Linked DNA regions of Homo sapiens: regions 2, 3, 4 and 5 are each linked to region 1. The links are contacts of gene promoters, found by promoter capture Hi-C in blood cells and fetal thymus (Javierre and others, 2016). All regions are on one chromosome and are shown on one strand. The core of a region is centred on a gene start or on the middle of the fragment in contact, and the rest is flanking DNA. Distances in the headings are between cores, read along the strand shown.

Region 1 (2,700 bases), core at 8-2,507:
TTTTATTGCTGCATTCCCAGCACCTTATGTGCCTGGCAAATAGTAGGGGCCAGAAAATGAGCTGTGGGTTCCCAAAGTCAGTTACGGACCATTTGCAACTAGCCATTCTCAGAAATCTACAGAAATAAACAAATACTTCAGTATGGGGTTTTTTTTTTTAACTTATATCCTCTTTGGACCTACAGTCATTCCACAATAAAGAATGCAAGAATCTTCTCCACACGCCACAAGTCTTAGTTAACCAAATCTTCTGTCCATTTTCTCATAACCATTAGGAGCCCTCCAAAAGCCCTGGAAGATGGGTTTTCCTTTACCCTCAGGCATTAAATCTCCTTAAGCATCTGCAAAAAGTTCTGAGTTACTGGCCTAACATAAGTGCAGCTTAATCTCAGACGATCTCCGGGTCTATCTAGTGTACATGAGGTACACCCGGACACCGTTAAGTATCAGTGGTGTTTGCACTCTCGATGGTTTGCAGACTGGCCACACCTTACCTACTGGGTCTGCATTCAGGAACATGTGTCCTGTCTGTTAGCACTAGAAGTGATGGACACGTGTTGGCTGGAATGTCAAGGCTGTAGCCAGGCCCCTTATTTTAGACACTTAGAAATCAGGACTCTGAGAACTTAGGCCAAGTAAAAATTATCAAAACAAAGAAACAAAACACGTGGTGGCACAAAAGACACCAGAAGCCAGGTCGTTTGCCCCTCACCATTCAGCCCTTCCCAGCAAAAGATCCTACTGTGCAGCTCAACCTAGCTCGCAGCCGGTACCGCGGGATTTTAATGTGCAACTGTGAGCTCGCAGGCTGTTAAAGGAAGGCCGCGCCTTGGCCGGTGCACCTTCCCCAGGGCAAGGAGAAAGCGCCGCTCCCGGCCTCAGCCGCAGCAGGCTCCAGGTCCCCCGGCCCGGAGCCGACTGAGACGGTGCGGTGCCCACGCTCTCGCGAGACTAGCGGTCGGGGCGGGCGGGTCGAGCCTCCCGGAAGTGGGCCAGAGGTACGGTCCGCTCCCACCTGGGGCGAGTGCGCGCACGGCCAGGTTGGGTACCGGGTGCGCCCAGGAACCCGCGCGAGGCGAAGTCGCTGAGACTCTGCCTGCTTCTCACCCAGCTGCCTCGGCGCTGCCCCGGTCGCTCGCCGCCCCTCCCTTTGCCCTTCACGGCGCCCGGCCCTCCTTGGGCTGCGGCTTCTGTGCGAGGCTGGGCAGCCAGCCCTTCCCCTTCTGTTTCTCCCCGTCCCCTCCCCCCGACCGTAGCACCAGAGTCGCGGGTCCTGCAGTGCCCCAGAAGCCGCACGTATAACTCCCTCGGCGTAAGTGCTAGGAATGCCGCTGGCCTCGCGGGGAAACGCATTCTTTCTATCTATAGCTCGCTCTGTACATCTTCTGTCTACGGCAGCTATTCCAGAGGCAACAACTGCTTCCCTCTGTTCTCATCTCCCCATTGGTGGCTGGCGACCCGAATTTGGGAATGGGGAGATTGCCCACCTGTTATCTTTGAGCAGACTAATCTCTTGTAAGCAGAAGTGCCATTCGGAGTCTCCAGAGCCCTGTGGCTTGGGGCTGGGAATGTCCCCCTGACTTCAGGCTTTCCTAAGTGTATTGCTTTTCTCTGAGAATGGTCTAGGTTTTTAATTTTTTAATTGTAAGAATCTGTAATACAGCATTTTTATTTCGGTCTTATTCGTTGTGCTCAAAGGCAGGAAACAACTATTAATTTGCCTTCTCGAATCTTAATAGTTATAAGATTCATTCTCTTTCATTGCTCTGCTAGGCATAAAACACACTTCGAACATGTAAGTGCCGCTGTCAGCTCTGGAGAGTTTAAGGCAATAGTTATTTTCGATATTTTAACTCCTTTTTGTTTCATAGGGGTAACTCATTCGACTGTGGAGTTCTTTTAATTCTTATGAAAGATTTCAAATCCTCTAGAAGCCAAAATGGGACACAGTAAACAGATTCGAATTTTACTTCTGAACGAAATGGAGAAACTGGAAAAGACCCTCTTCAGACTTGAACAAGGTCAGTAGCAAGTTGTTTTGATTTGCTCATTTGCGTCTTTTAAACTTTTAATTCATTGGCAGTCCTGTTAAATGTTTTAAAGCTCTAAGATAAATATTATTTCCAAGGGTCTAAAACTTGATTTGTGCAAAGATGGTGCTGTGTTCTCCATATATCACTAATTAATGTTGATTTGAATTAAAAATATTTTATATCCCTCGTGTTAGGATAAGGATAAAATAGTTCTCTTTTCTCTGCGTACTAATTCCCACTTAAGATTGAAGTTAAATATATGATCAGAAGATTGCCCATATTATTTCTAATAACATTTACTATTAAAACTTGGTAAATTACTTCATATGTAATTTTGCTTTGGGTATGCATGTAGTTTTGCCTTTGTATAACTGTCTCTTTTCCTTTGTTGAACCTTTGAATTGACAAAATAGATTGCAGCAAAAAGTATAGTAAACTATTGTTTATGTATATCAAAAACTTCTCAAATGTGGAGTAGGTAAAAGCTGAAAATATTTTCTTAGCAAATAAAAAGTGCAATAACTCATCTGGTTATGTTGAACTATATATAGTTGATCTGTATTTAAAAGATCAAATTACTTTTCTACAAGGCTAGTTAATAGATGTTTTATTTTCTTAGCCTTTGTAATTTTTCAACATTGAAGAAGTGTAATATATGAAAAATCCA
Region 2 (2,700 bases), core at 174-2,673, 1.5 Mb after region 1:
TTCAACACCTTTTCTGGGTAGGGACCTTCCCCCTCACTAACCACCCAGAGGTTAGACTCCTCTTGGGAGTCAGAAGATTGTGCTGCTTGCTCAAGATCCAGATGGCTTGCACTGTGCAGCTCACAGTAGATCTCTGTCATGCCTTCCAGCTGTCAAAATCCCAGTGGGATACTCTGGCTGGTCCACTTCCAGCTTCTTTCCCTGTCTGACCCCCTTTATAGGCTATATGCCTGGGATCTCCTTGCTCATGTCAAAGTGGGGAAGACGTGGCTTCTGTGGACTTGATGGTCCTACTGAGAAAAGCCAGATGAAACTTCGCTTGAAAGACTAGGGATAAGAAAGCCTACTTGGCATGACAGCATCCAAAATCCATTTGTTGGTCACAAGTTCTGAGATGGTTAATTGTATGTGTCAACTTGACTGGGCTGAGGGATGGCTGGGTAAAGCTGATAAACATAGTTTCCGCTGCTCCACCTGCAACTCTGAGTATTGCCTTCTCTTTAACTGCCACTTTGATACCGCAGCCTTTTGAAGTCCTTTTTCCTATATGTATTTGTAATTTATTTCTGCAACAGTCAATGAGGGTGCAATTACCATTTGAATCAGAAGACCAAGTAAAGAAGGTCCATACTTACCAATGTAGGTGGGAATCATCCAATAATCTGTTCAGTACCTGAGTAGAACAAAGGTAGGGGAAGGAGTTTGCCACCTTTTGCTTCCTGCCTGGTTGCTTGAGCAAGGACGTTGGTCTTTCCCTGCCCTTGTATATATCCTATTGGTTCTATTCCTCTGGAGAACCCTGATTAAATACAAGATTCTTGGGCTCGGTCATTTGAATGTTTCCAGTGGTTTCACCCAGATTCCTTTTAGCATCTATTTAAGTCATTGTGTTTCTAGTGTCCCATGCCCTGTGGTGAAAACTTCTGGGTTCGGGGGGTTGGGTTGGCTTAGGGCTAGGACTGGGCCAGAAATTCAGGGACACGCTACTTGGCTGCTTCCTCCAGCAGCCTGGGCAAGGCCCCTGAGCCTCCTCCTGAACCAATTTTTCAGCCTGACCTGAAATTCTTGTCCAGAACATTAGGACAGTGGGATCTTTAAGCTGGGAGCTTTGATGTTACTTCATGGAGTTCGCCTGTGATGGTTTCCCTTTCACTTTGTAGTAACTCTAAGAGTAGGTTCTAGGAACTAGGTTCTTGCCCGATTCTTTGTGTCTAAGCTCTGCTTATACTGCTGTTCTGGTAACTGAGTCCTAGTCTTGTTACCTACAGGGCCTGAGCTCCTGAACCCTTTCCCTGTACAGGGATCATGGCTCACTGTAGCTTCAAACTCCTGGGCTCAAGGGATCCTCCTGCCTTAGCCTCCCAAAATGCTGGGATTACAGGCATGAGCCACAGCACCTGCCCTCACCTTCTGGCATTTTTTGATCACCTTCTCTCGCCTTCCTTGTGCCCAGTTATCCTGGGACCAGAGTCTTGCTCCTAAATGCTGGACGCTGTGCTGGGTGTCTATTTCTGGGTTCTTCTGATACAATTACTTGGCTCTCTGAGGCAGTGCTCCAGCTGCCCGTCTACCCTGTTGGATGCAACTGGACTTCATGATGTCAGTACTCCCAGGGACTTCTTCCTAGTACTGACTTCACCCAAACAGGTCTGCGTGCCTTCAGGTCCCAGCTGTCCTAGTTTGGCTCATCACTTCAGTCTCACCCCTTCTGACTTTCACACACCTTCAGAGAGACTTCCTTGAGACAGGGTCTTGCTCTGTTGCTCAGGCTGGAGTGCAGTGGTGAGATCATAGCTCGCTGCAACCTCAAACTCCTGGGCTCAAGAGATCTTCCCACCTCAATCGCCCAATTAGCTAGGACTACAGGTATGTGCCAACATGCCCAGCTAATTTTTTATTTTTTTGGAGAGACAGGGTTTCTCTATTTTGCCCAGACTGGTCTTGAACTTCAAGGGCTCAAGTGATCCTCTTACCTTGGCCTTCCAAAATGTTGGGATTACAGGTGTGAGCCACTGCACCTTGCTTAGAGACACTTTCTTTAGAAAAGATTCAGAACACCAATTTGTCCCTAGCACCATTCAGTTTAAAACCCTTCAAAGGTTCCTCATTCCCTTTCAAAGAAAGTTCAAATTCCAAGTTATAATCATCCTTTACCAGATTGTAGTATGATACAGTTTTGTGTAGTGGCTAAGAGCACAGATCCTAGGTTCAGACTGCCTACATTCAAATTCAGGGGCTCCCTTTTAAGCCAGTTGATGTTTCTCAATCTGGGTCCTTGGACAATAGCCAAACAGCAGCAGCAAGCCTCTCCTATCTGCTTGCACACAGGTGGCACAAATTGCTATTGTTTCTATGACAACTGATGGCTTTTTTCCCCCATTTCATAAAAGCCGCCTGTATGGTGGACAGCAGCATGTGGAAGAAATGTGCTAGGCAGGGACTAGCCTGGTAGAACGCCCAAGCAACGTATACCGCGATTTTATTGTCTTCACCAGTCGTGGCTCTTTGTCTCCGAGTTCTGTCATATACTAGCTGTGTGAACTTGCTCTTGGGACTCAGTTTCCTTACCTATAAAATGGTGCTATTTACTCTTAAGGTAGTCAAGAGAATTAAATGAGTTGATATACCTAAAACACTTAGAACAGAATTTGACACATCATAGGCTGTTAGCTGTTATCATTTTTCAAGATTGAATCTCTA
Region 3 (2,700 bases), core at 153-2,652, 1.0 Mb after region 1:
GGGGTTGGAGGCTAAGGGCAAATCACACTGTGTACCTTGTTCCTTCTCCAGTACCTTGTTCCAACTCCACTTGCCCTTCCCTAGCCCATTTCAGTAAACAGATAAAACTGGATTTAAGTAAGCCTCAAGGAGAATCTTGCAAGAGAAGAATCATAAAGCAGTAAATTGTAGCAATTAATTACATGCATTTTTAATGAAACTTAGGTTTTTTTTCTTTTTTTAGCACTATCTTCATTTATTCCCACCACTACTCCTAGAGTTACTAGTATCTTTGGCTTTCTGAAGACTAGGGTAATTACAAAGCCCCGGTCAGGGCAGTGGTTTTTATTAATGGTAGCCTGAGTAGGATATATTATTAATAGTTAAGAATATAAGCTTTATAACTGACTGACCCAGGTTTGAATCCTGACCTTTTTACTTTGTGGCCTTGAACAAATTATTTAACCTCTCTAATTCTTAGTTTTTTAAGTCAGTTAAATAAGGTAATAATACCTATTTCATAAGATTTGTTTGAGAATATTAAATAAGAACATTGCATAAAGCATGATGCATGCTACATTGTAAATACTCAACATGGTAGATGTTAATATTACTATTATTATGATATTTTATTCATTCAATAAAGGTTGTTGATAAATTATGAATCCAGAAATTGTGCTGACTGGACTCACTTTAAATTTGTAACTACAAATCTCAAATGACTCAAAATAGTCCCAGATTATTCTATCTCATTGCCCTGGTAACTTCATTTTCCTCCTTTCCAAGAGAGCTATTTCACAATGTTCTCTTCTCTCAAATCCCCATACCTCCCACATACACACACACTCACACTCAACTGATACTCATACTCAGACTTTCGTCATAGACAATAAATGTCAACATGCAAAATGCCCTCTTTCTCATCACAAAATCCACTTGCCTTCCTACATCCTTGTTTATGAACTTTGTCTTCCCTCCTTTTTCAGGAAAACAGAGTTCCTGCCCCTTTGGCCACCCTCCCCTGCACCTGGAACATATCCTCTCGGGCCTTCCCAGGCACCGCACTTCTGTACTCATGTACGGGCTTCTTCTGTTCACTAGAACTTCAATTCTGGAGTGTCCCAGGCTCTGCCCAGCCCTCTCTCCTTCTCTATTTATGCTATCCCCCTAAATGATTCGACCAACTCTGAGGGCTCTTAATATCATCTATGCTTTAATGATTGATCTCCAGTCTTCCTCATTTCAGTAAATATTACCAACATCTACCCCATGTCTTCAGCGAAAAACCCAGGAGCCCACATCTAATCTGTTCAACAAGTCTTGTATGTCTTACTGGCTAACTCCAAACATACCTTAAGTCTAACTACTTCTGACAAACTTCATTACTACCACCATGGTCCCAACTACCATTATTTCTCTCTAGATCAGGGTTTCTCAGTCTTGGCATTATTGACATTTTGACCAAGTGATTCTTTGTTCTGAGGGCTGTCCTGTGCACTGTAGGCTGTTCAGCAGCAGCCCTTCTCTCTACCCACCAGATGCTAGTCACATTCCCACTACACAGTTATGAACACCAAAAATCTCTCCAGACGTGGCCAAATGTCCCTTATGGGGCTTGGGGGGGTCGAAATCACTCCCAGTTGAGAACCACTTCTCTGAATTAGTGCCAGCAATCTCTTAATTTGTCCCCCTGTCCCACTCTTGCCCTTCTAAAATCTACATCCTATACAGCATCCAGAGTGATCTTATTAAGCATATGAATCGTCATATCCCATCCCCGGTGAAAACATTTCAGAGGCTTCCTTTGTACTTAGTCCACAGCTCAAGATTCTGGCATTATTTCCTTCTACTCTCACCTTCAGTTACTGCTCTGCAGTCCTCTGGCATTCTTGTCATCCCCCAAACTTGCCAAGTTTATTCCTATATTGGGGCCTTTGCCCCTGATGTTCTCTCTGCCTGAAATTCTCTTCCCACAGAGCATGCCTTAACAACTCATCATTCAAACCACACCTCACATCCTCCTCCAGCTTTTCCTGAACCACCAGTGAAAGAAGTCTCCTATAGCTACTCTCCATCACATTACTCTATTTTCTTTATCGGGGCCAGAGATTATATCACGTATTTTCACCAACTTATTGTCCTCCTGTGAAAATATTTACTCCATGAGAGGAGGGGCTTTATTTGGACTTGTTTGCCTTTTGCCACTTTAACATTAATTTCCTGAAAAGTGCCTGACCAAAACAAGGATCTGGAAAATATGAACCAATATATTTTTGTCTGATTAATTAGCTGATTAAACACCTATGTGATTCAGCTTTGGGGTTTGGGGGCTGTGGCTAGAAAAATAAATAATAAGACACGGCTCCTGCCCTCAAGGAGTTAGATCCAATGGAGGTTTTGGAGAAGTAAAAAGGAAATTACAATATAGAATACGAAGTGCTACAATAGAGGGAAGCTTAACTCAGATCTAGGGCTTCAGAGACTTCCTAGGGAGGGTGACATGAGCAAATGCATCCAGAGGGGTGAGTGAGAGTTAGCTGGGTTAGTGGGTGCTAGAGTCTGAATTGTGTCCCCTCCCAAGTTCATATGTTGAAGCTCTAACTCCCAGTACCTCAGAATATTACTGTATTTGGAGATGGGGCCTTTAAAGAGGTAATTAACTTAAAATGAGGCTGTTAGGTTGAGCTCTAATCTAATCTGACTGATGTCTTTATTATAAGA
Region 4 (2,700 bases), core at 111-2,610, 1.0 Mb after region 1:
GGCAAAGCCCTGTCTCTAAAACTGCCCCGGGAGGCCCAGCATGATGGCTCAAATCTGTAATCCCAGCACTTACGGGGGCAAAAGCAGGATTCTGCCTGAGCCCCAGAACTTGAGACCAGCCTGGGCAATGTCATGAGACCCCATTCCTACAAATAAATTAAAAAATCAGCCATCTGTAGTGGTGCATGCCTATAGTCCCAGCTACTTAGGAGGCTGAGGCAGGAGGATAGCTGGAGCCAAGACGTTGAGGCTGCTGCAGTGAGCTGTGATTGCATCACTGCACTCCTGCCTGGGGAACAGAGTGAGACTCTCATCTCATAAAAAAACAAAAAACAAAAAACACAACAAACCAACTAAAAAATACTGCCCCAATAATTACATAATTATATGACTTATTGCACAAACACAGAAACTCAGAGAGCTGAAAGAGACTTCAGGGTCCTCCTTAGCCAGTTTCCTTGTTTCACAGATAAACAACTCAAGGTCCGGGGATAAGGAACTTGCCTAAGGTCATGCAGCTGCATGTGGCTAATCAGCAGCAGAACCAAGAGAAGACTCTAAACCTTCTGATGGCACAGTCCACAACTCTTTCCACTATGCTAGGGTAAATTCTGCAAGGATGTGTCAAAAAATTAATAAGGAAGACTGTCACTAACCTGCAAGATAATATAAAAAATTATACTTGTTATGTTGGAGTTTTTTAGTATCTTTAAGGAGAGATTACATACAATAAAATTTACCCATTTAAAGTATACAGTTCAGTAGCTTTTAATATAATCACAGAGTTTTGCAACCATCACCACAATTTAATTTTAAAACATTTTCAACACCTCAGAAAGAAACCCCAGACCCATTAGCAGCCAATCCCTATTTTCACTTCCCTTAACCCCTGACCTCCATCCCAGCTCCAGGAAACCACTAATTTATTTTCTGTCTCAGTGGATTTGCCTATTCTGGATATTTCATATGAATGGAATCATACAATATATGACCATTGTATCTGGCTTTTTTCACTTAGCATAATGTTTTTGAGGTTCATCCATGCTGTATATATCATGAGGTATATATCAGTACCTCATTTTTTTTGTTGCCAAGTAACATTCCATTCTATGGATAGACCACATTTTCTTCATTCATCAGTTAATGGACGTTTGAATTGTTTCCACATATTGGCCATTATGAATAATGCTGCTATGAACATTCATGTACAAGTTTTTATGTGAACCTATGGTTTCAGTCCTCTTAGGTGCTTACCTAAGAGTAGAATTGCTGGGTCATTATGTCAGTAATATTTAAATATCTGAGAACTGAAGTAGCTTTTCAAAGAGCATTATTTGAAATTACAAGTAATTTTCTTAAATGTGGACATAGAATAAGAAAGTAAATAATATATAGTATATTAAATAACAGTACAAATTCTGTCATGGATGTCTTTAAATGGACCAGGCAATTTGAATTTCCAAAGATCTGCTATAGAGTTACTTACTACATAATCTATCAAAGTTCCCTAGAAGAAACACCGTTGAAGGATTCTTTCCTCAAGGCTAGTTCCTTCAGACTGGAAAGCAATAATTATCCAGAGAGAAGCTGAAAACAAACATGCCAGTGCACAGCATGAACAAAGATTATGTTCTCTGACTCATAAGGTAGAAAAGCAATGAGCAACGTGGTGTTGTACAATGAGAAGCTGTCATTTTTATTTTGCTGCCACAGATGGCAGCAGAACGATAACTATTCTGCCATTTCACTACGAGATTTGCCTCATACTGTCCAGATTGTTTCTCCTCTGGCTCATCTTCTAGAATATTTACTTGCCTATAAACTGATGAATATAGAATGTAGATGCTCAGAAAAGGGGCCTCAGCTGCCAAGAGATAAAATCATTCCAAGGTTGAATACAGAGGCCAATGCAGAACCTGAGCTGATGCACGTAAGAAGATGCAAAAAGAAAATTGGAAGAGACGGCTCTACAACCAATGACCAGTTTCTGACCAGGTTTATGGCATGCAGATAACCAACACTGTTTAAACTAAGGCAAAGGCGCATGTGGTGCCAAATTCCAAAAAGACATTTCCCCTCAATGGTACCTACATACAGTGAGCCGATCCACGACTCCATGTATTGGTACATGCTATTTTCTCTACTTCCAAAACCCTTCTATCTGACAAACTCTTACTCCCTGCCCCTCAAATCTCTTTCAAATATCACATCTCCTATAAATGTTTCCCTCACCACTCTCCACCCTGAGTATTCCAGTGAACTCTGATTACTGTGTTTCTAGTCCTTGTTTTCAGGTATTTCAACTATCGACTGTTCTTTTGCTGTTTTTTTCAGTCTTAACGTATCTTGAGGGAAGTTTCTGTCCTTCTTTATAATCCAGAACAGTGTCTGGCCCATTTTTTGACTCAGTGCTCACATCACTATAGTTGAATTAAATGAGGGAATTTATGTCTAAATTGTCCTAAATGTCAATGAATGCCTGAAACATTAACAGAATAAATGCAGATTAAATGTAAATTAAGGCCCAATTAAGACTAGACAGTACCAAAGCAACTGTTCCCTACATAGAAGAGCTGGGTCATCACCCATCTGGTGACTAGAAGAGCATGTCATGAAATGTGACCTCAAACACAGACCACACAGGCCCCCTTTCTACATGCAGTTCTGTGGCCAAGCCACTTGATAAACAAAAGATGTCTC
Region 5 (2,700 bases), core at 100-2,599, 1.1 Mb after region 1:
AAATCTTAAAATATTAAATCTAAGAGAATTGCATGAATAATATGCCCCTTACCTTGTCCTCATGTATCAGTTTTATTATTCTGCTTTATCATTTATTCACCAATTCTCATTCTGCTTTGAGTTAGATGTCAGATGAGATGGTTAAAGTACTATCTGCACTTAAACTTTCTAATATATCTATATTTCAGTGGAATAAATAAGGTTCATGATAAAAGTTTAAGACATTTTCTAAAATCTTTTGTAATGATTTGGCAGAGGTTTATAAATTATTGTGCTTTTTCTTGTTGGTAAATGATGTGCTTTGACTTAGTTTCTAATTATATAATTATTCCAAATTATGAGAAAAATTTAAAACCATGCTTTTTCTGTATGTGTGAAGAATGTTTTTGACTTTTAGTTTGTAGCACTTCCAACTGATGAAAACTCTAGCATCTAGCCAAATATTAAGAGGTATGGGTTGTGCTTGGGAACACCAGGTATTATAAGCATTAATAATAGTTAATAATTAATAATGTGATTTATTAATAATTAGCAATAGGAATATTAATGTGGTTTTAATGTGACAAGCATTGTGGTAAATGTTTCATATATATTAACTCAATTATTATAACAATTATGACACTTTTATACTATACTCTATTGAAGTGATGGCTAAATTGAGGCACAAAGAAGTTAAGTAACTTACTGGTCACGGAACTAGTAAATTTGGAGCTGGGATTTGAACCCAGGTACTCTGACTTCAGAAGCTTGTTTTTAAAGACTGAACTGATGATTGCTTTCAGAACATTTTTATTGACTTCTCTTCAAGTTCACGGATTTCTTTCCTCAGCTGTGTCCAGTCTGTGATAAGCCAATTGGAAGAATTCTTTATCGCTGATAACTTGTTTTTTGTTTCTAGTATTTCCATTTGATTGTTTTTTATATTTCCCACTTCTCTACCAAATTCCCCACTGGTTCATATTTTTTTGTCCACTTTTTCCATAGATCCTTTAACATATTAATTAGAGTTTATGATAGCTCCAGTATCTGGGTCAATATCTTGGTCTGGTTCTGTTAACTGCTTTCTCCACAGTGACTTCTTTTTTTTTTTGGCTCTTTGTGTATTTTGAAATTTTTTTTATCAAATATTGGACATTATGAGTAAAAAACAGTAGATACTGAGGTAATAGTATTTATGATCGGAAATAGGTATGCCTTGTCTGTCAGACCACTAGTTGGTTGGACTTTGTGCTTTTAGTAATCTCTGTATGGTGCCTGTGCCACAGAAGCTCTTTTCTTCATGCGCTTACTCCTGCCCAAGCTATAGACTGCTGTTGCTTGTTACTCAGTACCCAGTTTATGGTGAAGGCAGAGGGGTATTTGTTAACTTTAACCCAAAGCCTCTGTCTTTGGTAGATTCTGTAAGCCTCAACCTCAGGGGTATGATTTTGTCAACATTTTTACTCCTTCTCCTGTAATAGCCAAACTCTACTGTGTGTATGTTTATGGTCCTGGATGGAGACAACTTTCCTTCTCCATTCTCAGTGGTAGCAGAACGTCTGCTTTGTGTTGGTAGAGGATTTCCTTCCCTTCTTTTGGTGGCTTTTCTTAGTGGGTGCTTTAGTATGTATAATATTAATCTTTAAATTATCACAAATAATATGTCATTTCATGTATCTGATAAGAACCTTACAATAATACACTTTGATTTTCTTATTCCATTCTGTGTGCTATTATTGTCATACCTTAGGTTGTTGACAGTATTTTTTTTCTCTTTCAATACTTTAAAGGTGTTGCTCCATTGCATTCTGGCTTGAATAGTTTCTGAAGAAAAACATGCTATAAATTTTATCTTTATTTTTTTAATTTAATTTTTCTCTTTCTTCCCCTCTGGTTTTCAAAGATTTTTTTATTTCTCTTTGATGTTTAGTGGTTTGTGACGTGTGGAGGGTTTTTTCCTCGCTTGGGTTCATTAAGCTTCTTGGATCTGTGATTTATTTTCTTTTATGAATTTCAGAAAACTCTGAAACATTTTCTCTTTAAATACTTTTCCTATCCCTTTCTTTTTTTCTTTTCTGTTCCTGAGACTCTAAATACATGTATTTTAGTATGTTTGATACGTCCAGACAGGTTTGGGATGCTCTGCTTTTTTTGTTTGTCTGTTTGTTTCCACTCTCTTTTCTCTTTGTGTTGCACTTTGTTTAACTTCTTTTGACCTAACTGATTCTTTCTCTCTGTGTCCAGTCTGCTCAGAAGCCCATGACTGTTATTCCTCCATATTGTAATTTTTAAAAAATTATCATTTCCATTATATTCTTTTATAGTTTTTATCTGCAGAAATTATTCATTTGTTAATGAATTTTCTCTGACTTTATACCACATCCTTTGACATATTAATTGTATTTGTTGTTAAAGTCCTATCTAATAGTTCCAACATTGGGGCCATTTCTGGTTCTGTTGACTGTTGTAGCTCTTAACAATGAGTCTCTCTTTTTTTCTTTCTTGATTTTGTCATTGAGTGCTGGACATTCTGTTTAAAAGAATAATAGAGACTGTATATGTCCAGAAATGGGCACACCTATTTTTCTGTTTGGCCGTTAGTATGGGACTTTCGAAACTATTTGCTCAGTAGTCAAACTGGGGTTGAGCTGGGTTTTGTGTTTTGTTATTGCTGATTTCCACAAATCACAGTCTTTGAATTTTTCAGTGGTTCCTACTACT

The links. The method cuts DNA at HindIII sites, captures the fragments that hold promoters and counts their contacts. A CHiCAGO score of 5 or more calls a contact.
Region 2: a contact is called between a fragment that was not itself captured here and the fragment with the promoter of AGL in region 1, in 2 of 17 cell types (activated CD4 T cells and naive CD8 T cells). The highest score is 7.4, in activated CD4 T cells.
Region 3: a contact is called between a fragment that was not itself captured here and the fragment with the promoter of AGL in region 1, in 12 of 17 cell types (naive CD4 T cells, total CD4 T cells, naive CD8 T cells and 9 more). The highest score is 11.4, in naive CD4 T cells.
Region 4: a fragment that was not itself captured here is called in contact with the fragment with the promoter of AGL in region 1 in 8 of 17 cell types (non-activated CD4 T cells, naive CD4 T cells, total CD8 T cells and 5 more); the score reaches 8.8 in non-activated CD4 T cells.
Region 5: a fragment that was not itself captured here is called in contact with the fragment with the promoter of AGL in region 1 in 8 of 17 cell types (total CD8 T cells, naive B cells, naive CD4 T cells and 5 more); the score reaches 8.6 in total CD8 T cells.

What each region holds. Positions count from the first base shown.
Region 1 is chr1:99,849,104-99,851,803 of GRCh38, forward strand. AGL (amylo-alpha-1,6-glucosidase and 4-alpha-glucanotransferase) reads left to right here and starts at 1,258. Exons shown (of 34, transcript NM_000642.3): 1 at 1,258-1,312; 2 at 1,872-2,021. The coding sequence starts at 1,940. RefSeq lists enhancers at 404-1,378, 579-728, 1,379-2,352 and a silencer at 909-1,228. The HindIII fragment of the contact is 4,640 bases long and covers 1-2,700 here.
Region 2 is chr1:101,311,240-101,313,939 of GRCh38, forward strand. No RefSeq gene overlaps it. Among named protein-coding and RNA genes, the nearest start is that of LINC01307, 11 kb to the right of the region's middle. RefSeq lists an enhancer at 1,039-1,118. The HindIII fragment of the contact is 3,376 bases long and covers 1-2,700 here.
Region 3 is chr1:100,860,774-100,863,473 of GRCh38, forward strand. No RefSeq gene overlaps it. Among named protein-coding and RNA genes, the nearest start is that of EXTL2, 33 kb to the right of the region's middle. The HindIII fragment of the contact is 2,059 bases long and covers 374-2,432 here.
Region 4 is chr1:100,882,508-100,885,207 of GRCh38, forward strand. All of the region lies in intron 2 of EXTL2 (exostosin like glycosyltransferase 2), which reads right to left. Among named protein-coding and RNA genes, the nearest start is that of EXTL2, 11 kb to the right of the region's middle. RefSeq lists a silencer at 1,506-1,800. The HindIII fragment of the contact is 3,425 bases long and covers 1-2,700 here.
Region 5 is chr1:100,903,455-100,906,154 of GRCh38, forward strand. All of the region lies in intron 2 of SLC30A7 (solute carrier family 30 member 7), which reads left to right. Among named protein-coding and RNA genes, the nearest start is that of SLC30A7, 8.7 kb to the left of the region's middle. The HindIII fragment of the contact is 1,210 bases long and covers 745-1,954 here.